Linked DNA regions of Homo sapiens: all the other regions are linked to region 2. The links are contacts of gene promoters, found by promoter capture Hi-C in blood cells and fetal thymus (Javierre and others, 2016). All regions are on one chromosome and are shown on one strand. Each heading gives the region's core, a stretch centred on a gene start or on the middle of the fragment in contact. The rest is flanking DNA. Distances are from core to core; before and after follow the strand shown. Region 1 overlaps LOC124901750 (a long non-coding RNA gene). Region 2 holds the start of CYREN (cell cycle regulator of NHEJ). Region 3 overlaps LOC124901750 (a long non-coding RNA gene). Region 4 overlaps LOC124901750 (a long non-coding RNA gene). Region 5 overlaps CALD1 (caldesmon 1). Region 6 overlaps CALD1 (caldesmon 1).

Evidence for each region. Contacts are between HindIII fragments. The CHiCAGO score rates a contact against its expected background, and 5 or more counts as called.
Region 1: a contact is called between a fragment that was not itself captured here and the fragment with the promoter of CYREN in region 2, in 2 of 17 cell types (naive CD4 T cells and endothelial precursors). The highest score is 6.1, in naive CD4 T cells.
Region 3: a fragment that was not itself captured here is called in contact with the fragment with the promoter of CYREN in region 2 in 1 of 17 cell types (M1 macrophages); the score reaches 6.3 in M1 macrophages.
Region 4: a fragment that was not itself captured here is called in contact with the fragment with the promoter of CYREN in region 2 in 4 of 17 cell types (non-activated CD4 T cells, naive CD8 T cells, endothelial precursors and 1 more); the score reaches 6.0 in non-activated CD4 T cells.
Region 5: a fragment that was not itself captured here is called in contact with the fragment with the promoter of CYREN in region 2 in 1 of 17 cell types (non-activated CD4 T cells); the score reaches 5.3 in non-activated CD4 T cells.
Region 6: a contact is called between a fragment that was not itself captured here and the fragment with the promoter of CYREN in region 2, in 1 of 17 cell types (naive CD8 T cells). The highest score is 6.0, in naive CD8 T cells.

The regions. Positions count from the first base shown.
Region 1 is chr7:134,696,299-134,699,463 of GRCh38, reverse strand. All of the region lies in intron 1 of LOC124901750 (a long non-coding RNA gene), which reads left to right. Among named protein-coding and RNA genes, the nearest start is that of BPGM, 51 kb to the right of the region's middle. The HindIII fragment of the contact is 3,866 bases long and covers 1-3,165 here.
Region 2 is chr7:135,169,312-135,172,193 of GRCh38, reverse strand. CYREN (cell cycle regulator of NHEJ) reads left to right here and starts at 1,487. Exons shown (of 4, transcript NM_024033.4): 1 at 1,487-1,542. RefSeq lists an enhancer at 747-966 and a silencer at 1,347-1,956. The HindIII fragment of the contact is 3,007 bases long and covers 230-2,882 here.
Region 3 is chr7:134,738,064-134,741,047 of GRCh38, reverse strand. All of the region lies in intron 1 of LOC124901750 (a long non-coding RNA gene), which reads left to right. It also overlaps a transcript of CALD1 not described here. Among named protein-coding and RNA genes, the nearest start is that of CALD1, 40 kb to the left of the region's middle. The HindIII fragment of the contact is 297 bases long and covers 1,280-1,576 here.
Region 4 is chr7:134,716,306-134,719,015 of GRCh38, reverse strand. The region is part of intron 1 of LOC124901750 (a long non-coding RNA gene); the gene reads left to right. It also overlaps a transcript of CALD1 not described here. Among named protein-coding and RNA genes, the nearest start is that of CALD1, 62 kb to the left of the region's middle. The HindIII fragment of the contact is 1,292 bases long and covers 749-2,040 here.
Region 5 is chr7:134,879,455-134,882,513 of GRCh38, reverse strand. The region is part of intron 3 of CALD1 (caldesmon 1); the gene reads right to left. Among named protein-coding and RNA genes, the nearest start is that of CALD1, 100 kb to the right of the region's middle. The HindIII fragment of the contact is 2,955 bases long and covers 1-2,846 here.
Region 6 is chr7:134,817,445-134,820,227 of GRCh38, reverse strand. All of the region lies in intron 1 of CALD1 (caldesmon 1), which reads right to left. It overlaps LOC124901750 (a long non-coding RNA gene), which reads left to right. Exons shown (of 2, transcript XR_007060537.1): 1 at 1-2,783. Among named protein-coding and RNA genes, the nearest start is that of CALD1, 39 kb to the right of the region's middle. The HindIII fragment of the contact is 1,111 bases long and covers 927-2,037 here.

The DNA.
Region 1 (3,165 bases), core at 288-2,787, 470 kb after region 2:
GGGTCATATTTATCTTTACACCCTAGTGCTTAATACAGTGCCTGTACATGTGATGGTTGATTTTATGTGTCAGTTTGGGGGCACAACAAACGTCATGCACTGTTGTTTGGTCAAACATCAGCCTAGATGTTGCAGAGAAGGTATTTTAAAAGATATAATTGATATTTAAGTGAGTTGACTTTGAGTAGATTACCATACATCATGTGGGTGACGCTCATCCAATCAGCTGGAGGCCTTAAGAGAAAAGACTGAGGCCCTACAAAGGGGAAGGAATTCTGCCTCCAGACTCAAGTCTGCAATGTCACCTCTTGCCAGAACTTCCAGCCTGCTGGTCTGGGCCTGCAAATTTCAGACTTGCAGTTCCCACACTTTCTTTTAAAATGAATCAATCTCTGTCTCTCTATCTTTCTGTCTCTCTCCATATATATGTATATGTCCAAATATATATGTGTATATATTGAATCAATATCTTGTTGATTCTGTTTCTCTGGAAAACATGGAGTAATACAGCACATGTTTAGTAAGAGTTTAGTGAACCACCAACTTAATAGCAAGGAAAAGGAAGACGGCAAGTAGGGCTGAAGGCTGGACGGGAGAGGGAAAATGCTGGAAAGTATATGAGTAGATAGAGATTGAATAACCAGGGAAGAAACTGCATGCCACTCTTTTTAAGATAATGATGTCTACCTTTATTATGCACCTGGGTACCATATGTGCATAGAAATATTTTAATGCAATTGGATTTCCTTGTATTTTAGAGACTCTCATGTAAATATCAAACTGTAAGGTAGAATGAGATTAAGATATTTAAAAAGGGATTTAGGCCAACATAAAGCACATATAATAAAGGGTATTTATGTTTTATGGAGGATTTTCTGGAATCTTTAGAATCTTTGGGGACTGGATTAAGTCCCTGGGATTCCTAAACCCTTAGGAGTCCTCCAACTATTTTCAGTATTTTAAAAGTCACATTGAAGTCCTACCCCTGCCTGCTAAGCCTGCACAGTCTCGTTAAAATGTCAAATTTTGTTTGCTTTGGGCTAGAATTCTGTTAACCAAGTTTGATGGGGTTGGTTATCTTTTGCTGCCCAATATCTCTAATTGGCAATTGCACATATCTTGGAATAACTTTTTAAAAATGGAAGCATGGATAAACTAATTTTAAAATGCAGGTTGTTCGATAGCAAAGTCTTTTAAAACAAAGGAGGCACAAAAGGTGGAGAAAAAGAGGTAATGAAAGGAGTTTCTAGTGATGGGCAGGTGAGGAGCCTCATAATGGATAATTACTGAGCTCCTGAAAGGCCCAAGAGTTGAGTAAAGTCAGTGCAGTATCTGGTTAGCCACAAAGTTCACGGTGGTCCAAAGTTAAATGTCCTGAGTTTGCACATGCAGCCAAACTCATGCACAGATGCCACTAGAGAGATGGCTCAAGAGAAGCCACCACAGCAAGCCAGAGCATCCAGGTGAGATGCAACATGCTTACGGCAACTGCAGCAGCACTGTTCATTCAGCCTCGACCAAGGTAGGCCAAGGAGCTCCACAACTCAGCCCAACTTTGGGCCCCATCTCTGCCCCTCACTAAGCCTTTGACTTCTTTGTGCCTCAGTTTTCCCATTGGTAAAATAATTGATAATGATGGGTTCCAGGGTTGTTGCAATAAATAGTGTAACATATAAAGCACCCAGACCAATGACCGGAACAAAGCAAGCCTCCAATGCAGGTGGATTCTTGTTACACCTTAGGCACTGTGCCAAGAATCTTGCACACACCTTTTCCTAGTCCCCAGAACAATCCCCCAAGGAAAGCACTATTATTGTCTCCATTTCACAGATGAGTTTAAGGAAATTGTCTAATGTCACTCAGCTCATCCGTGGCAGAAACTGGACTCAAACAAAGCCTTGATATTACCAACCAGGGTGTGCCTGCCTGGGGGACACCAACTTACCTCACTCACTGTGTGCCCTGGGGCAAGTCACCTGGCCTCCCTGAGTGTGCATTCTTTCATCTGTAAAAGTAGAGGGTTATTTTCCAATTTCAATAATATATGTATTATGGTTATGTATGAGGTCATCATTGGGGAAAGCAGGGTGAAGAGCACATATCCACCCTCTAGACTCATGTTTTAACTCCTCCTAAGCTAAAATGATTCCAAGTAGAAAGTTTACAAACCACTGTAGGGATACACTACTTGGCAATTTTCCTTGTGTTGGGCACATACATGGTGCTCAATCAGTGCTTCTCGATGTGATTTGTTTGATTTCTAGACGCTAGAATGTGACCAGTACTGACCATATTGGTTTTTTTTTTCTTTTTTTTTTTTATTATACTTTAAGTTTTAGGGTACATGTGCACATTGTGCAGGTTAGTTACATATGTATACATGTGCCATGCTGGTGTGACATGAAAAACAGGTCTCTACAAAGTCTCTTGATTTAAGTAGCAAAAACAAAGAATCTGAGTTGATGGAAGCATTTTATTCTTTAAAAAAGTATCTCTCGGCTGGGCGCGGAGGCTCACGCCTGTAATCCCAGCACTTTGAGAGCCCGAGGCGGGTGCATCACGAGGTCAGGAGATCGAGACCATTCTGGCTAACACGGTGAAACTCCGTCTCTACTAAAAATACAAAAAAAATTTAGCTGGGCGTGGTGGGAGGCGCCTGTAGTCCCAGCTACTCGGGAGGCTGAGGCAGGAGAATGGCGTGAACCCTGGAGACAGAGCTTGAAGTGAGCCAAGATCGTGCCACTGCACTCCAGTCTGGGCGACAGAGCGAGACTCCATCTCAAAAAAAAAAAAAAAAAAAAGGTATCTCTCATGGTATTAAAATTTTACATATTTAAAATTAAAAGAAAAAAAACTAGGAGGTTGGAGGCAGAGATCTTTAAGGCCCCTTCCTGGGGTAAAACCCTTGTTCAGGATAGAACAAGCCACTCGTTGCAGGTCCCCTCCCCAACCCCCCTCGAACAGAGGCGGGGTTCTGTGCATGCCCTGCCCAGTGCCTGAGGCTGCCAGTCACACCTCCCTGTCTCCTTTCAGTTTAGACACTGACCTCCCTGGTAAACATGAGTGTGTCCAACTTCTACCCTTGAAATTACTGTAGCCGCCTTCGGGAGCAGCTGGAAACCCTTTCTGCTAGGTGTGTTTTGTCTGATCACATCTGGCCAAGGT
Region 2 (2,882 bases), core at 238-2,737:
GTCAAGCCAAGTCAAAACCAGAACAAAAGTGCCAATACAGGCACACCGTGGGTGATCAGGCCACGCTTCCACTCACGTGGAGTGGGGCAAGTTCCAAAGACTAGTCTTACCAAGTCAAGCCAAGTCAAAACCAGAACAAAGATGTCAATACAGGCACACCGTGGGTGATCAGGCCATGCTTCCACTCACATGGAGTGGGGCAAGTTCCAAAAACTAGTCTTGACAAGCTTCAGATGTCTGGACTTCAAGTGCCAGTTCCTTCCCGGTGTTCAGCCAGTGTTAATCCTTCTCGGGAGCCTGCTATGCGCTGCTCTGGCAAGGCATTCCACCGGGGCCATTTCCTACCCGGGAGCGCTCTTTGGATTGCGTCAGTCAGGCTGGCCGGAGTCCTCTGCAGGGACGCTCCACAGGGCTTGTCAGTCACCTCGCTTCCTGGTCAGGGAACCAAGGACTGTAGCAGGACAAGCCACAGACAAAACCTCTCAGACACGGAGCTGTAGAAGAAAGGGCTTTATTCAGCTGGGAGCATTGGCAAGCTACTGCCTTAAAATCCGAGCTCCCCGAGTGCACAATTTCTGTCGCTTTTAAGAGCTCACAACACTAAAATTTCACATGAAAGGGTCGTGATTGATTTGAGCAAGCAAGGGGTACGTGACAGGGGCTGCATGCACCGATGGTCAGGGAGAAACAGAACAGGGCAGGGAGTTTCACAATGTTCTTCTATAGAATGTCTGGAATCTATGAATAACATCGGTTTCTAAGTCATGAGTTGATTTTTAACTACTAGGTTTAGGCCAGGCAGGCCCAGGTCCAGTTTTGGGCCTGGCGCTGGGCTGCCTGTCTTTGATTTCACTTCCTTTTTTTTTTAAAAAAAAAAAAAAAAACAGGTACTGAGTATAAAACAATATGAGAGGGTCTCTCTCTTCCCTCGCTTTAACTTTCGGAGGGCTGAAATTCTTTCTAGCCTTGGTTAATACAGCAATTCATTCCATTCTAGCTATTGTTATTTCTCTTACTATAATTTTACTATTAGTACTTACGCTATTCTATTATTTTCTTAATTTTCCACTTAATTAGGATAACAAACCGAGGCCGGGCTCCCATCCTCCTCAAGCACACGAGGGGGGCCTGGCCCAGCAGGGAGCTTCGCCTGGTTTCTGAGGGAATTCCCGGCGGGCCTTTCCAAAACATGCCCGTTCCCTTCCGCTAACTTCAGGGGCCAAGAATTGAACTTTCACCCTCCTCAAGCCGGTGGCGCTGCCTCGCTGGCGTTCCCAGCGCGCAGCCAACCGGATGCCAGCCGGCGGCATTACCACTGCCAGCATGGGGCGCCCGCGGACCTCCGACTGAGGCAGCTGCCGGGAGCCGGAAGTGTCCCGGGCGCCGGGACTGCGAGGGGGCCGGGAGTTCCCCAAGACCGGAAGTGTCCCGAGGCCGGGAGCCCGCGGGACCCCGGAGCGCGCGGGGCCGGAAGAGGCGGGCGGCCAGTGGAGGTCCGCAGAGTTTGGGCGCCAGGCGAGACGGCAGGGCTTAAAGTTCCGGGTGAGGCGTGGGTCCCACAACCGCTTGGAATTTGCCTCCCGGCTCCGCTCTGGAAGCTAAGAAGGGGCACGAGAGCCGGAGACGGGAACCTGAGAGCAGGGAAGCCAGTAGCCGGCCGGAGGAGCGCGCGGCCGCTCCAGTCGGAAGGAGCCGTTGCAGCCCTGCCCGGCGTGTGGCGGGGTCAGCGAGGCCCCTGCGGTGCTTCGCCCGCGCCTTCCGCTCCGCACTCACCCGCCCTCTGGGCCTCCCACAGGTCGGCGCCGCCAGCGGCGGGTACCGGCCCGCAGAGGGAGGGCGGGCTGTGAACTGGCAGCACATCGCGTTCCCGCGGGGCCCCCATTCTGCCCAGGCAGGGAGCGGCTGGGATGGGACTGAGGTCGGTCCGCGAGCGCGGTGCCCCAGAGACCCGGCTTCTGGAAGTTGCCGCGGCCTGCTCTTGGGGCCCAGAAGTAGGGCGGGGAGGCGCGGGGTCTGGAGTCTGCAGGACCTGGCTGCGAATCCAACCAGCTGATTTCAAACTTTTCTGTGATCTTCTGCAAGTTAACTAAGTCTCAGTTCCTCGTTTGCGAAATGTACTTAATAGGCACCCCAGGGTGAACTAAATTTGTCCGCACAGACTGCAGCATTGCGCTTGGGAGGCGCCTTAGGGGGTAGGAGTCACTAATATCACTGAGTTTTGACAGAAATGAAGGTGCATTGGCAAAGGTGTGCCCCATGGCCGGGCAGGTTAGGAGGAGGGCCTGGTAATATTTTTTCTTAAATTGTAAACAGCCATCTGGATGAGCAATGCATTATCAAATTATGATTCAGAGAGGACTATCGCTGACTACTCTTTTTTTTGGGCAAACCTCCGCTTCAGGAGCTTCTGGCTTGATTCCTAAGTGGAAGGTAGAGACCTAGGCCCTCTGAGTCACAACTCCATCTCTCTGGGTGAGGACTGAGCTCCAGGACTGCTGAGTGGAGGCAGAACAATTGGGATAGGGAAAAGAGAGGCCAAACTAGATCAGAGGCTGGCGTGGGCTTCAGAATCTACAGACTGGCACAGTTAATGCCTCCGGGCCCCTATTGCTGCTTCAAGTTTGACCAATCAGAAGTATCTTTAGCTTAAGGGCGGCGTGTTGGCCAATGAGACTTTATTGTGAAATAAAATGCCCTCAGTTTCATTTAACTGAGCCACCATAGAAGAGTAGAGAAATCGAGTTGGCCAGATGAGGGAGAGGCCATTAAGAGGTATTTTAGGGATTGAATGGGCTGGGCACCCAGAGGACAGTGGCATTTGGGGTGGTAATGAGAAGGAACATTAGGGGCCTCCGCCTCCTTCCGTTCCTCCTGTGCTGAGT
Region 3 (2,984 bases), core at 179-2,678, 430 kb after region 2:
TTTTTGTGCCCTGACCCCCAGATTTACTAAGGTACCTAACCTCGCTATGCCTCAATTCATCCATAAAATGGGGACACTAGTAGAATAATTTCATAGAATTGCTGTGAAGATTGAATAAGATCCATGTGTAAAGCATTTAGAGAAGTGCCTTGCACATGGTAAGAATCCAATAAATGCTAACTCCAACCATTGTTGGTGGTATTGCTATTATTATCCCTTTGCTAATGAGCTTGCAGTCTAGTGGAGAAGACAGACCATAGAACAAAGCTGGAGGAGTAGTGCAGCACGAAAAAGGTTACCAGCAGTATGCCTTGGGTGCAGAACCAGGAGACATCTTTATTCACAATCCTCATCACCTCCTCTGCGTAGTCTCTAGTTTGTCACTGTTCCAATGTACACAGAATTTAAAAATAATGTCCCAGATTCCATGTGAGGAGCACAGAGCCTAACGCTTCTCACGATCATCACACAATGCTTCCATTAATGCAGTAAGTTTGTGGAGCCATATCACACTGTTGGCTCACATGAAGCTTTTGGTCAAACAAGACCCCCAGGGCCTTTTCACATCAACTGCTGCCAAGTTGCATGTTCTCCATCCTGTATCCCTATAATTCTTTTTTGGACCTAAAAATAAGACTTTGCATTTATCCTTATTACATTTTGTGTTTTTAGTCTTGGCCCAGCATTGCAGCATGTCAAGATAATTCTAAATCTTGATTCTGTCAACTCTCTTATGTCTTTTTTTTTAATCCCCTCCAGACTTGTGTCATTGCATATTTGATCAGCATACCTACTACTTCCTCATTCAAGGCACTGATTCAAATGTTGACCAAAATGAGGCTAAGAGAATAGTCCAACAGTTCAATTGCAGAGCCCTCAGCATACTTAATTGTGTCCACTAATCATTTTGGGTATGATTGTTCAAGTAGTTTTAAATTCATTGAGAGGTATCCCTATTTCATCATTTTATTCAAAATACCTTGCTGATATGAAGTTACACTGGGTCTATGACATTCTTGAAGATTATTTTATCTGAAATGTTCCTGAAATGCTTGTATCTCCCTTAAATTTTATAAGAATATCAATTTCTACATCTAGATTATCAGTGAAGAATGTAGTGGACATCATTTAATAGGTGACTTAAGAATAAAATTATGCCATTTGATTGTTACTCTTGGACTCCAATTTGAGGCTTTAGTTTGAAGGTGCATTTGCTAGAATATTTGCCTGCCTCAACAAAGAGCCTCCAAAATCTCAGTGGCTTAAGACAACGGAAGCTTATTTCTCACTCACGTGAAGTCACATGAAGTGATCCTGATTGACAGGCTGCCTTCCATGTGTCATTAAGGAAATCTAATTTCTTCTATTTAGTGGCTTCCTTCTCCTCTTGTTCTTTGCAGTTCTAGGAAGTCAGCAGTTAATGGGGAAAGGAGACAGATGATGGCATGTGGAATGTTTTTATGGTCCAGGCCTGGGAGTAGTGCACATCAGTCACGTGACCACCCTACCTGCACGGGAGGCTGGGAAGTGCATTTCATGTATATGCCCAGCAAAACCAGAAAGTGAACAGCAAGCTTGGCTTAAAAACAGATAGAAAACATAGTTTAGGTGGGACTCACATGCTATTTCATGTTAAGTATGGTATTAAACCTGACAGTATAGGGGGTTGATGGATCAGAAGTGATAAGACCTAGGTTCTAATTCCAGGTCCATCATTTATTGGGTAAATGTAACCTTGGATAAGTCACAGAACTGTACAATTGCTAGGCTTAAGAGACTATCTTGGTCCATTTTGTCCGTTGCTAAATCCCTTTTGTTTGTGCCCATTTGTGTCACATTGTGTGGGCTGATCTCTTCCATATAGTTTTTGCTTGTTTCCCACTATAGAAAACAGACAAGCTCCAAAAACCATTCAAAGTAAAGCTCTGCCCCACTTACGTTGCTTCTATGACTTGAAGTCCAGTCACCAATGTTCCCTCCATAATTAAACTTAAGCAGCAGGCATTGAGTGCCTGTCGAGACCAGGACATGTGCTAAGTTGTGGATTGATACAACGAATCCTAAAATAAATAAAAACACTTGCACATGGTAAGAATTCAAAACTTCAGAATGAATTCAAAACTACTTGAACAATCATACCCAAAATGATTAGTGGACACAATTAAGTCTGCCCAGGGCTCTGCAATTGAACTGTTGCGCTATTCTCTTAGACTCCTTTTGGCCAACATTTGTATCAGTACCTTGAATGAGGAAGCAGTAGGTATGCTGATCAAATGTGCAATGACACAAGTCTAGAGGGGACTTTAAAAGAGACATAACAGAGTTGACAGAATCAAGATTAAAATTATCTTGACATGCCGCGATGCTGGTCCTATAGTTGAGGATCCATCTGACAGTTTTATATACCAGACAGCTCTCATCTAATTTGTTAATAAGAATTTTCAACAGCGAACAATCAAAATCTTCACTAAAACTACTAGAAAATATATTTAATTGGAGGCCAGATAATAGATGACCTTAAATGCAAGGACAGGGAATTTAGACTATTCCACACGCAACACGTGGGCTGTCAACAATTGTTAAGCCAGAAAATCTCACAGTCAAACTGAAGAAAACATAAAGCGTAGATGAAAGAACCTCTAATTCTGATGAGATGGCAGGCTGAAATCACTGGGAAACTCTGCCTTTTGTGTATGCCTAGGATTTGAGGATCAAATATAACAAAACAATTTTTTATGCAAAACTAAGATCACAGAAAGAAGGGGAAATCACAGAAAGAGAAAGAATGAAACCAAGCAAGTTAGCGTGTGAACTGATTCTCCATTTCCCGCAGAATTGGAGTGAGTCACAGAGCTTCAGATTCTGTGGAACTTGGGTTTTAATGACCACAGGAGATAAAGCATTGAGCCTGAACAAGATGGGGGTGGAAATGAGACTTCCTCATAAAGCCAACACCCTTGGAGGCCTGAACCGTCAGGGAGGAT
Region 4 (2,710 bases), core at 145-2,644, 450 kb after region 2:
AATACTCTATAGTGTACACAGTAGTCATGAGGCTAGCATGGGTGAGAACCACTGATAGGTTCCCAGTAAAAGGTAATTATTTCATTCAACTTGACTCAAAAATTTATTTGGCAAGTGTTATTCATCTAGGTATGACATCTAAGCAATAGTGACAATATTTTGGGGAAATAAAAACTCCAGAAACAGTTGTCAAGAACTGCTAAGGGTCTTAGATTTTACCCTTCTTGAAAACTAGCAACCAGTATAAGACATGAGACTTCTGGGTCAGAGACAAAGAATTTTATTATTCACAACAACAGCAGTAGCCAACGTCTTCTGATTGCAACAGAAATTTGTACAGTAATTTACTCTAATTTTAAAACAGCTGAGGCCAGGTTTTATGCATTTTTAATGCATAACAAGCCTTTTATAAATCATCTGTATTTTACTACTTGTCTCTGCTCCCATCTCAGATACATCATTATATGAAACATTTTTTTCCCATTAAATAAACACATGTATACAAATAAATATAAGTATGTAATTTATAGCAGTTGAGTTTAGTGATTAAAAACTCAGGTTCAGAAGTCAACCTGCCTCGGCTCAAATCCCAGCTTAACCACCACAGAGTGACCTTGGGCAAGCTATTTAACTTCTCTGTGCCTTTTTGTCATGTCTGTAAAATGGAGATAATAACAGTGTCTACTTCATAAGATTGATGAGTGGATAGAATGTTATAATCCATGTAAAGTGCTTATGACATCAAGCTTACAATAAATGGTAGCTATTATTAATAGTGTAAATTCACACAATCCTTTGGATTTCATCTTCTTTCCCAAGAGGAGGATTTAAAAAAATGTTTTCAATCTAGAACTTAGGGTTTCAGAATAAATCCACAGGCACTTATAAAAAAACTGCTCTCCCATTTTTCTTCTCTTACCATGAACCAACTTTAGATTGATTCTGTGTTTAAAAACAAAAGGGAAAAAGAAAAATAGGTACCAAATGAAAATTCTACCTTCTGGAAGCATTCACATAGTTAGTATTGTTTTTTTTCCATGACAAGAAGAATGTTCTTTTATCTAGAAACCATCTATATTGCTAGCATTTTCTCTTTGTTTTAGCTGTAGTCCAAGCAAGTTATTTACTAAGAAGCTAAAAATCGGAAATATATGTCTCCATATTTATGTTTTCTTAGTCATTTGTTTTTTAATTCTTGAAATCTCCAAAGGCAATTGGCACACACAAAAAAATCCTGGGGCTTAAGGAAAATGTTTACCAATCCATTAAACATATACAAGCCCTGGTTATAATAATTGTGCCTTCTTTCAAGTGGAGCTGGCAGGGCCTTCCCTATCATGGAGTCAAACTCCTCACTTTGACTTTATGGACCCGGAGCCTGAGCACAGGGAGGCGGGCGAATGCTCCAGTCTGAGCAGCCAAGTGCAGCTGGATTCCAGTGCTTTCTCTGCATCACACCATTCCTTCTGCCTGGCCACCTTCTATCCCCTTATTTTCCTTCATTCTCAGGATCAAAGCAGGTACATTTAGTTGGTATTGCATGAAATGCGATGTGTTGAATGAAACTGAAATGTGTTCCGATTTCATTCCTGGTGCTTTCTTGGCCATTGTAAGCAAGGTACCAAGGTCACTCTGCTTTTCCAATTGGGCTTTTTCAGCTTATTAAAACTACAGTGGTCCTTTGGGTGGTGACACCATTATGTATGGCACTGTTATGGCAGATACATGACATTATACATTTGTCAAAACACATAGACCTATGCAACACAGAATGAACCCTACCCTAAACCATGGATTTTAGTTCATAATAGCATTATTGGTTTTGATTAATCAGTTTTAACAAGTGTACCACACTAATGTCAGATGTTAACACTAGGGGAAACTGTGTGTGTTGAGGTGGGGGAAAGAGACGGAACTCACTGTACTTTCTGCTCAATTATTCTGTAAAAATATACCGTCCTAAAAATTAAATATATTATAGACAGATAGATAGATGATAGATAGATAGACAGAGTCTAAGATAAGTATATATATAAAGCTTCAGTGGTCAAACCTTGTTATATTTGAGAGATAGTATGGTAATGGAGCTTGTTTACCAACAACAATAACCACAAAAAATCGAAGACCAGTGATTTCTTATCTCATTTGGCATTGGTCTTTGGTGTGAAAAAGGTAAATTCTAGAACTCACTATTCACATAATCCATATCACACATCAAAGTCTACAGTATAAATACTATTCCTTAATAAAACTGATAATTTGCAAGGCATGGTGCAATGTAGTTTTGAAAGATGCTGTCATCTTTTTAATAACTAGCTCACATCCACTCTACCTGCCATGAATATTTGAACTCACTTTGGTCATGGTGTTGACATGAACCCTTCTGGCTGAGTTTTTTCCCTGACATTGTTTTCACTCTGTCCATTTATATTTTTGCTTATATTTTTGCCAATTTATTTGATGGTGTGTTAAAAACTGATTCAAACATCTAAAAGTTTCTTCTTCTGTCATGTACATTTCAAGAGTTTAGAAAATAATAAATCTTTCTCATATTTGCCTGCATGGACTTACAATACAAAAGCAAGCAACACAGAGTCTTGTCCACTGGAGCTATCAAAATTTCACAAAATTTCAGCCTTTTAATTGATTCATTAAACACACTGGGTGATAATTCTTGCATCTGAGCTAGTATCTTATGAGACAGTGAGAG
Region 5 (3,059 bases), core at 120-2,619, 290 kb after region 2:
ACTAATTGCAAATATACCAAGGGCTTGAGTACCGGAGTAAATAGGCCAACAAAAGGAAATGGACTCTTACCATATTAATATCATTTGCCTCCACAATGCAACTAAATAAGCATAAGTGGTCAAAATTCTATGTTGTAAAGGTCCAATTATCCTTAATAATCAAAAAAATACATGAGATAAATCTCTTCATTTCTCTGGAGAAAAGATATGGAGTTGAAATTGCAATGGCTTGAAGGCTCAGCAGAGAAGTGATGAAACCCCAGGAGAGGCATTGATGGTGTCAGTGTTTAGAAGACACAACGAGTGTCACTAACATTTCTGCCTCCCTCACAAGTAGCTTAGCACATTTGTCACAGTTGTGCCTTGATACACAAGTGTTAGTGTTCATTCAACATTGTATGCTGGTCTTGGGGAAATAAAAGTGAGTAAGATGTAGTTTCTGATCTACGGTTGCTTTCAATTTGGTGGAGAAAACAGATACGAGAACAAATAAACATAAAATAGAGGATAATAATTAACATATGTAAAAAGTGCGACGTAAGACCCAAGGTGGGAGTAGGGTTCTCCTCGTAAGCACAGCACAGTTTCCTTCTGATTGGGATAAAGCCAGGATTTTAAATCGTCTGCATTTTCTCCTCAATTCACAACTAGAGGAAAAGGGAAAATAAAATGGCTTTGGTTCTTCTAATCTGCAATTGAGGTCCTAAGCCCTCTCCAGAGGTGACGGGCTCTAGGGAGGGTGACAGGTGACATTTTATTTCATTGTGTTTTCTCAGCATCTGATTTCTGAAAGACTAGAATACCTGACAGCCAGTCAGCTAGCATAAGGCAGCAGGGTTAGAAGTGTGAAAATTCCTTTGAAACACAGCACATGACCAGCATGAAACCTGCAACTCTACATATAGTTAATATAGAAGTGAATCCAGTGTAATCACCCAGGCACTTCAACATGATAAACGTACGTCATGCGCATTACCCTTTATACTTTCGATGACATTTTTTCTGTATCTTGCTTAATTTTCTCAGCCACCCTGAGAAGTGTTAGTTCTCTCTTATAGATAAGGAAGCCCTGATCTGCTGAACTTTTATCCAGTGTCTTTTCTTTTATCCTTGATTTAAAAGCCAGTCTCTTCAGCAGGAGTTAGAGGACATTTAGCTCTAATGTGATAATAAATTGAGAGTGGGGCCTCACACGATGCAAAGAAAAAAAGTGCCAGAGTTGGAGAAAATGACAAGGTTTCCAGATTTGACCCTGCCACTGACTGTGTGCTCTTGGACATGTTGCTCTACAAGCCTGGGTCCAATGATTTGGGCTTCCAACCCCCTTTCAGAGAACGTAGGAAAGAGAGTGTATGTTAATTTCTGATGACATAACCCAACTGGACACCAGAATCTGTCTTCTAGAAGTAATTCTGCACTTCAGGCAGAGTTCTCATGGAAAACTGACACCTTTCTGAAGCGCATATGTCTCTGATTTCAGCTCTACCATAGCTCTGACAATGCCACAATGAGACATCATTTATATGACATGAGGCACTTAGGGACTAAAGGATTTGGGAATTTCTCTCCAGCCTCAACCTAGAGTTTAAAAAAAACTTCATTCTGTTCAGTTCAAAAGCCGCTGAGCATCTGTAGCAATGATAATCCCTAGGTAGCCAGGATATGCTATGAAGATGCTGGCTCAGGGAAAATACACTCTCCTGCTTAGATAGGAAGAGTTAAAGGATCTTAAAAGGTAGTAGCAGGAAAGACAGGTGTCAGATATCAGTTCTTTCTACATCACAACTTTTGCGCGAGGCCCCTTAATAATAGGTCCTTTCTCATCTTCTTCATCAAAGGACAAATAGTGAGGGAATGTTAGATCCCCCAAATGAAACTCCACTAAAAAAAGATCAAGATCTACACAACAGTTTTGATGAGAGAAACAGAAGAATTGTTCAAGGAAGAAGTGGGCAGAGATATACATGTACTGTAGCTGCCAATTGTGCCTTGGGAAAGATGCAGTGTGATTAGACCTGATGATGCTTCTTGTCTTTGAATCAGCCTGATAACCCATCATCTCATCCTGCTTGTTTATTTGCTCACTTCTTGCTCAGTTATTTTTCATATTAGTCTCTTGAGTCTCCCCCCACCTCCAGAAAACCTTCCAACAGTGTAAAGTTTTCTGTGGGAATAAAAAATGGGTTGACTGCTGTTATTCTAAGCGGGCACAGTAGTGCTACTAGCTCCAGAAATAAAGGACTCTTTCATTACCTAGTGCTGGTGCCGGCTCTGAGTTATCTAGCTTTTATTTGGAGAGCCCCATGAAGCATGCAAAATTCCCACTGGACAAAAAGACCCAGGCTACCCTTAGAAAAATAAAAAGCACATATTGAACAATCTGCTGGAAACCGTCAGTTGAGTTCCTAAATGGTACAGGAAAACAGAAGCCAGTGAAGATGTGACATGGGATAGTAGTCCATGTCACCCACAATGGAAAATATGAACATTGGAAGAATTTCCTATTCTAAACAATGTGGGGTTTAAAATACACTCTGGAGACTCTCCTGAATGTACAGGCTTGTAGCTGCTATTTATAGTGACCGATGTGTACTTTACTGAGATTTTTATCCCAACAAAGGAACTGTATGTGATGTAGGGAGTTATTAAAATGGAAAATAAGCCCTCACATTCTAACCTAGTCATTGGTACACATCTCAAATGCAATGTCAGGTCTCACTAAAATAGATCAACTAGAAGTAAGCCCAGTAAAAATTATAAAATACCTTAAAAGAAATTTAATTTTGAAAAATGTTTAAGTCTACCTACCTGGTAACTTCCATCATGCTGGCAAAACATTAGAAGCTTATTCAAATGGTGAATACATACAAATGATTTATAATTAACAAATTAAGCTGTTCAATGTCAGTGAATGTTTTTAAAGTTATTTAAAAGGTTTAAAAAAAAGTTGTACTCTCCAGTACTTAAAAACTAAGCCATGGAATGTAGCTTACATATTTAACATGTTAACCAAAGACTTTATTTATAAATAATTCAAAGTTGTACTTTACTAATGTTCC
Region 6 (2,783 bases), core at 233-2,732, 350 kb after region 2:
AGTTTAATCTTCTTACAATGTAGACAGACCACCCTCATCATTATGGGCTGAAAATTACACTGAGAATATGTCTTAGAAGTTTCTGGTTACCATCTGTGTAGACATGAACTCAAAATTCTCTCTTAGATCTGAATTTCCATGAAAATCCAACTAAAGTGAATAGAAGGGTGAAAAAAGAAGCACATTAACAAAATTTCAAAACCATGCCTGATTTTCATTAGATCCATTATTTCAGTTTCCATTCTCTTTTAGCATATACATTTATAGGCCAGTGTGTATTTTCATGGCTATCTTCATTGTTTTCTTAAAACCAGGGTTTTGTTTGTTTGTTTGTTTGTTTGTTTTGTTTTTGAGATGGGATTGTCACTATGTTGCCTAGGATGGAGTGCAGTGGCACAATCATAGCTCACTACAGCTTTGAACTTCTGGGCTCAAGCATTCCTCCTGCCTCAGCCTCCCAAGTAGCTGGGACCACAGGCACGTGCCATCACATCTGGGTCAGGAGCTAGAGGGTTTACGTATAGTCATCATTGGGTACTAAAATGTTTTTTACAAGGGCTTCTTAGATGCTGATTGAATTTCCCAAAGCTTGGTAGAGATGATTTCAATACATTGGACTGGGTTGAGGTTGTAAAGATAGTTAAACACTTTATTAAGCCATCTGGAGCATCCCAAACATTAAGGCATGGATAACATAAACAACGCATACATATTAAGCATTTCCTGTGTGCTAGACACAGTGCTAAGCAAAAAGCATGCAATTGTAAACTTGAGCGGTATGGCCCAAGTTCTATTAGGCTTGCAGTCCAGTAGGGATGTCAATATTAAATATTACAATGTGGTGTGATAACCCTGCTCTGGAGAGGGTATCAGGAATTGTCAGGGCACAGAGAAAGGTAATAAGTCAAACTTGAGTCTGTTAAGCTTTCCTTAGGAAGTGGTATCCTAAGGTGAGATGTGAAGGAAGACTAGGAGTTAGGTCAGCAAGAGGCCATGGAATAGAGTGGAGAATGCTTCTTAATTCCGCAGAGACTGTCATTCATGTTCTAGCATGTTCTACAACTCCAGGCCTTTTTTTCTTGCTCCTGGGCCTCACGACGGTTCTTACTTCATCTAGTCAGGCTCCCTGTTCTCAGTTGCTCTTGCCTTGTGTGAAATCAGAAACACTCGCAGAGGAAAGAGGAGAGGAAATTAGTCTGGGATTTTGGATCTGGTTTAGCGTGGCCAATTTGGATTTTCCTGTGACTGAACAGGATTGAAATCTCTACCTCACACCCATGGCACCCAGTCTCCTGTGTTTTCCTCCTAAAGTTTTCCATTACAAATAAACAAAAATGTTGGCATGTGAACTACTGCCACTGGTTGACTGCTTGGTTTCCATCTTGCAGTATGTCATAGACACCAACTTCACATCATGTCCAGCTGCCTCTCGGAGCTCGGCTGCCCACAGAAGCTCTGGCGCAATGGTGGGTCATTGAGTTACATTTTCCAGTGTGGAGTGATAATTGCAAGATTTACTGAGCAGAGAAATATGACCCATCAAATTCAGTCTAAAAATAATTTTTGCTCTGAAAAAGAAAATCGAATTACCTTGCTCTTCACTATGAAAAATTGGCTTCATCTGGGTCAAGAGACATGGAACCTTTCTTTGAAGTAGACCCTACATTCCAAAATATCACTGGCAAACTCTGGGGCCTGCTTCTGATTAAATAATTGACATAAACCTCCGCCGAATAAACACTGAACCCTTCAAAAACAGAGAAGTAAATGAAAAATAAAAATGCATCTATGCTTTAAGTAGAAGATCTTCTGCAATAATTTGTTACCAGAAAGCAATTTACTTTTCCTTTTGTAAACCAGCATTAAAACCTAAGAAGAAAGCACACTGGGTGAAACTCTAGTTGAAACTTCGAAATAGTCTTAAATCTATTCTACATATTATCAGATTTAATGTTGACCTTAAGAGAGTGCTTCCATATTTATGGTTTGCTATCTTATCCCTCAAAACTAAATTTATTACTCATAGAATATGAAGCTTAAAAAGTAAAATATTGTATTTTCCTGAGAATATTTTGGTCTTTAAATTGACAACAGTATAAATACATTGTAAGAAAAAAAATAGCAACCCAACTGTGTGTATGTATACCTTGCCTCTTTCTTCAAGGAATGCTATCTGTGCATATAAAACTCAAAAACAGTTAACCAAGAAATAAAGAAAAAGAGTAAACTCTTTTGGGTTTATTACAGATGAGGTTATAACAAAATGGGCTGACGGCAAGTGTGACAAAAAGTATTGTTTGAAAATTCTAAATCTTGTTGCCACAAAACTGTGACTTTTTAGAAATATATGGGGAAATTTTATTGTAATAGAATGGAATTGAATTTATTGAAATTTTATTGTAAATGAATAAAATTTTGAAGAGGTCTTCAATAATGGAATGAGTAAGATAATTACTACTTCACTTAGCTTTCTAAAAACTTTGCACCAATGGATTTCTGCCTTCCCAGATGATTTTTTTCTCGTTTAGCTTTTGTATACTTTGAAAAATAGAACAATGACTTTGTTCTGTCCTTCATAGGTTGGGATTTATAAAAATGATTTTGTGTGCCTCTGCAAAATGTGGAGAAGTACTGAATAAACAACAAACAATCAGGTGTTCTTCAGTTAAAGGGACAGTTTTTAGAGGAACCCCGTGGTTGTAATGAATTATTTCTTGTTTTAAAAAGACCTTCTTACCTGAATAACGTTGTGAATCACACGAATGTCAATTTCTTGGGTTTTG